Linked DNA regions of Homo sapiens: region 1 is linked to region 2. The links are contacts of gene promoters, found by promoter capture Hi-C in human tissues and cell types (Jung and others, 2019). All regions are on one chromosome and are shown on one strand. The core of a region is centred on a gene start or on the middle of the fragment in contact, and the rest is flanking DNA. Distances in the headings are between cores, read along the strand shown.

Region 1 (2,700 bases), core at 95-2,594, 1.5 Mb before region 2:
CAGTCTCAGTCTTTAAGTTAAGCCAGTTTCTCATTTCTAAAGTAGGTGACATTGTAACTGCCCAACGGGTTCATCTTGCCCACTGCCTAGACAGAGCTGATTTATCAAGACAGGGGAATTGCAATAGAGAAAGAGTAATTCACACAAAGCTAGCTATGTGGGAGACTGGAGTTTTAGTATTACTCAAATCAGTCTCCGTGAAAAATCAGGAGTCAGAGATTTTAAGGATAATTTGGTAGGTAAGGGGCCATTGAGTTGGGAGTGCTGATTCGCTGGGTCAGAGGTGAAATCATAGGAAGTTGAAACTGTCCTCTTGTGCTGAGTCAGTTCCTGGGTCGGAACCCCAAGAACAGATGAGCCAGGTTATTGATCTGAGTGATGCCAGCTCATCTACTGAGTGCAGGGTCTGCAAAATATCTCAAACACTAATCTTAGGTTTTACCATAGTAATGTTATCCCCCAGAAGCAATTTGGGGAGATTTAAAATCTTGCACCCTCCAGCTGCATGACTCCTAAACCATAAATTCTAATCTTGTGGCTAATTTGTTAGTCCTGCAAAGGCAGTCTAGGCCCCAGGCAGGAAGGAGATTTGTTTTGGAAAAGGGCGGTTATCATTTTTGTTTCAAAGCTAAATTATAAACTAATTTCCTCTTAAAGTTAGTTAGGCCTAAGCCCAGGAATAAACAAGCACAGCTTGAGGGTTTAATGCAAGATGGAGCTGGTTAAGCCAGATCTTTCTAAGTCGGTTATAATTTTGCAATGGCAGTTTCAACACAATAGAAGCTTGAGAGCATCATCCTGTAAACCAAAATAATAATAATAATAATAATAATAATAATAATAATAATTCTAAGTCCTTCAACCAACTGAATAGATCCCTCTTCTTGGCCAAGGGCATTCTAAAGTAAACCTGAAATACGAGTTTAGGCAATGATGGAAATGGGTGGTCAGACATGCCTCATTAAACCTTCCTCCCATTGGAATTCAGGCACAGCTGACCAAAATTAACATTCAAACAGAGACCTTAGGACCGACAGAACAGACTCTTTAAGTCTGATAAGAAATGTTTATTATCTATTCTCTCTGAAGCTTACTACCTGGAGACTTCATCTGTATAATGAGAACTGTGGTCTCCACATCCCTGTATCTTTAGATAAACTCTTTCAACCAATTGCCAATCAGAAAATATCATTGAATCTACCTATGACCCGAAGAGCCTCCCCTGCTTCCCCCACCCCCATCCTGCCTTTCTGGACCAAACATTTTACATATGTTGATTGATGTCATAAATCCAGGCTGTAGCCTGACCACCTTGGGCACATGTTGTCAGGACTTTCTGAGGTTGTGCCATGGGCATGTCTGTAACTTTGGCAAAATAAGCTTCTAAATTGATTGGCACTTGTCTCAGATTCTTTTTGGTTTACAAGCCCAACCAAACAATTAAGTTCATCTGCTCATTTGCTGGTAGTAATAGTATATCAGTGGAACCTATCTCTCTATTTTACACCAATATTAGGGTTGTTGACACTTCTGAGATTTAACAATGATGCTATAATACATTAAATACATTATAGTTGATGAGTTCATTTGGAACCACAAACTCTTTGAGGGAAAAATGTCTTCATTATTTTAGTGCCTTCAGTGTTTATCAGGAAACAGAGTACAAAATGATAAATATATGATGAGCAAAAAAATAAAAACTAATTAAAAAGCTAAGTGAATGAAGGAGGAAATGGTTCTACCATGGTCCACTTCTGTGTACACATAAATGACTTTATATTTTTCAATGAGTTTACCCTATCCTTAAAGGTATTCTATGAAGGGATCATATTTATTGTCATGACAGCTATGACTTTTCTTACGAAATTCATATTCTCTCATTTTACCAATGGCCACATGTATGCTGTGAATTTTAGCCCCCATCATAGTAAGTACTTAGATATTCCCTTTACAGTTAGACTTATTTTATATATGAGAAAAGTGAACTTGGAAGTACTGGCCATTTATTCTGCATTAGGACATGTGAACATATCTGCATGTTTTATATACATTTAATATAATATGTTTTATATACATATTTAATACAAAATATACAAACAAAAAACAAAACCTAAAAACAAAATGTTCTCTCATGAATAATGATACATTATTGTACTCAAGTTATCTATAACTACCCAACTAATTTTTGATCCTATACTCTTGGTCCAGACATTGACAAGGAATTTGTCTCTCTCTGTCTCTCACTTTGTTCAAGTATCTCATGGCTAAGTTTACCACTGGGTATAACTTTTATACACTGAGCCATTTTCTTTCTGAATCAAACATGATAAATGTAGAATGTATATCATGATCCTCCTCCCCTCCACCTGGGGGCTTTGATACCAAAAGATCTACCTAACTGGGAGTTTCACTGTATGCCTATTTAGCCACAAGGGGCAGGATTCCTTACCTGCTTTCTCCCCATAATTTTGATCATCTGTAGTGCCAGATATGTCCTTATTTTTATAGATTAGTATTTAAGTTTATTATTAGGGGTTGGGTTCATTATTCAACATCCATTTGCTTCCCTGAGCACTTGAGAAAACTTATCTAACACATTTTTAGTCCTCTTCCTTAGGGAAAATAGAATATCCTCTCCTTTATTTTCTATCTCTTCCTGAGTTTAAAAATCAGCTGAAATAACAGTGATGCTCACTGACT
Region 2 (2,700 bases), core at 162-2,661:
CTACACTAAAAGGAAAGTTTGGTTACACAGGCCTGAAAGAAGGTGTGTAGATTAGGAACGGAATCAAGAATTTTACAGCCTTGATTTGTAAGACAGAGTAAGTTTTCTTCATCCTTTTCCATTTCAGAATTAGAAACAACCCTATATCCCTACTTTATTTGCCATCAGATGCACAATCAAATAATGTTTCTATTCACGTAGACTTGAAAGGATCTTCATCCTGTGTGGGTTATTTTATTTTATAGTAGCCAAGGGAAAGAGGTTGCTGCCAATATGATGCTAAGGGCATGCAGAATAAAGACAGTCCTGGGCAACTAAACAGTCCACCTTTGTGCTGCGCTTGTGGAAGAAAAAAGCAAACCCATCACAACTTTGGGACTTGATCAACAGTGGGGAGTCACAAAACTCTTCTCAATCTCTGCATTTTAAATCTCCACCAAAAATAGCTCCTCTGTAATGGGGCTTAAAGTCCCATCCATGGCCAGTGATGGAGTACAGTACTTAATTGTTTCTGACTAGGGTCTCTGCATCAGCACTCTGAGAGTGTCTTCTAACTTTTAATCGCCTTCTGTGCTCTTTAATTAGACCTGTTCACAAGACAGTCAAAAGAAAACGCCTATCACTAAGCTTATCCAAGACGTTGAAACATGCCATTTCAGGAGTCCAGGAACTTTTGTACAAGTCTTAGCATCTTCCAGGATTAATCTGTTTTCTCTGGTTTCCTCTTCCTTAAATCAGGCACACTTGGGGGAAGGGAGAAGCTCTATGGTTATTAAGACAACTCCAATGTAAAGACACTGCCTGGTGGCAATTCCCTCCTTGCCTATTTCCGTTCTTTATTTTGTTCTTTTACCGCGTGTTACCTTTTGGCTACTAATAGGACCGGAGGGTAAAATGTCTTTTCTCTCCTTCGGAAGAGAAAGCTTTTGATCCCTCACTGAGAGCAATCCTAAGACTTTCTCCAGGGGGCTGGGATAACTAGGAAAGGGCTCTGCTCTCTCAGAAGGATTTCAGAGCCCAAACCATACAGCGTCCCTCTTGCTTAGGCGGGAGATGCAAACAGCTGAAGTGCCTTGGCCCCCACTGGTGACCCACAGTAGGACCAACCTCGCCCCGGCAGCGCCCCTGGCCTCAGGTCACTCACGCTCCTGGACTCACCTGGTGCTGAGGACCAGCGCAGGCAGGAGAGGCAGCAGGTAGTGCGCTGGGCTGAATTTCATGCTGCTGCCTGCCGGGGTCCTCCTTCCCTCGCTGCCTTCTCTCTCTCTCTTCGGGATCCTGTCGCTCCTTGGTGCCCGGCTCTGTCCCCAGCCAGTGATGAGCGCTCTTCCGAGGCGGAAAGGCGGAGACGGGCACACGAACGGACGCCTGGGGAAGGCAGGCGCTGGGAGCGAGGAGTATCTTCAGGAGTGATGTCACCGGCGAGGCGAGCCCTGCCGGGGATTGTTCGGCGCCGCCGCTCCGGAGCCCGGAGGGCGCGCCGTCACTCGCGCTGGAGGCGGCGCGGGGAGAGGGAGGGGGCGCCTCGCGATCGCCCCGTGCGCTTCGGTCACCGGGCTGCGCTCTGGTCAGTCGGGTGAGCACTGGCCAGGGGCGGATCATTTATTCCCGCTGCTCCCCAGGATGGCGCGGGGCGGGGCACGGAGAGTAGAAACCTAATCTGCCGATAATTGAACTTGCGTACTCGGCAGGAGATGAGACCCAATTCACTGGGAGAGACTTCCAGACGCGTAGGGTCCTAGGCAGGTGTCTCTCGCCGCTTAAACCGTGTTTGGAAGAACGTCGCTCTGGAGAGAGTGTTTAGAAGATTGTTCTAATTAGAACTGCATAATGATTTGCCTGAAACAGATGGAAGGAAGCGGGAGTAAGCAGCGTCCAGAAATGCAACCTCAGCCCGTCATGGCATTGCAATCTTCTTAACCCGTGAATGTTGACTGCAAAGAACCAAAGAACGTTTCGGGACCGTTAAGACATCTGCTGCTCTGGGTTTTGAAGATTTCTGATCTTCCTCTGATTTCAGTCGTCTGTACCAGCACCTGCCAATGGGGTTGGACCTGGTGGCTCAAGTTCACACACCTGAAGGAGTCCTTTTCCTCAGGTGAAACTCATCAAGGAGACCTAGCGGACAAAAACCATTAAAATGTTAACAGTAATCAGCTCGGAATGATGGTACTGGAAGGTAGAGGTTTTGTAGGTCATTTGGTTTTCTATATTTTCAAATGTTCTATCATAAGCATCCAATATTTAATAGGCTCTATTTAGAAATTTTAATTAGAAAAATTAAATAGCACAATTATAATCCAAAACACCATTTTGCAAAAGCAATTCTGAGAAACAGAACTACTATCTCTGCTACTGAGATATTCAATTCTAGGATATTTATAAGATGATATTGCATGTGTGTGTGTGTGTGTGTGTGTGTGTGTGTGTGTGTGAGTGAGAGTGAGAGAGAGAGAGAGAGAGAGAATGAGAATTCCATCTGGATATTATCCTGGTTATATAACTGTGTATAAGGCACTTCTTCATACAGTATTTAATTTAATCTTCACAAGAGCCATCCTAGTGAAATAGACGTTAATATCACTATTATAGATATGAGCAGACTGAATATCATCAAAATCTGACTATGCATATTAAAAAAAAGAACTGGTTCTACTAAGTCCTAAGAAAAATTCCACTGTTGCCTCAAACATCACAACT

The links. The method cuts DNA at HindIII sites, captures the fragments that hold promoters and counts their contacts. A contact is called where the count stands out against the background at its distance.
Region 1: a fragment that was not itself captured here is called in contact with the fragment with the promoter of LUZP2 in region 2 in 1 of the 25 tissues and cell types used here (mesenchymal stem cells).

What each region holds. Positions count from the first base shown.
Region 1 is chr11:25,971,025-25,973,724 of GRCh38, reverse strand. No RefSeq gene overlaps it. Among named protein-coding and RNA genes, the nearest start is that of ANO3-AS1, 320 kb to the left of the region's middle. The HindIII fragment of the contact is 3,641 bases long and covers 1-2,700 here.
Region 2 is chr11:24,495,764-24,498,463 of GRCh38, reverse strand. It overlaps LUZP2 (leucine zipper protein 2), which reads right to left and starts at 1,411. Exons shown (of 12, transcript NM_001009909.4): 1 at 1,159-1,411. The coding sequence starts at 1,220. The HindIII fragment of the contact is 10,753 bases long and covers 1-2,700 here.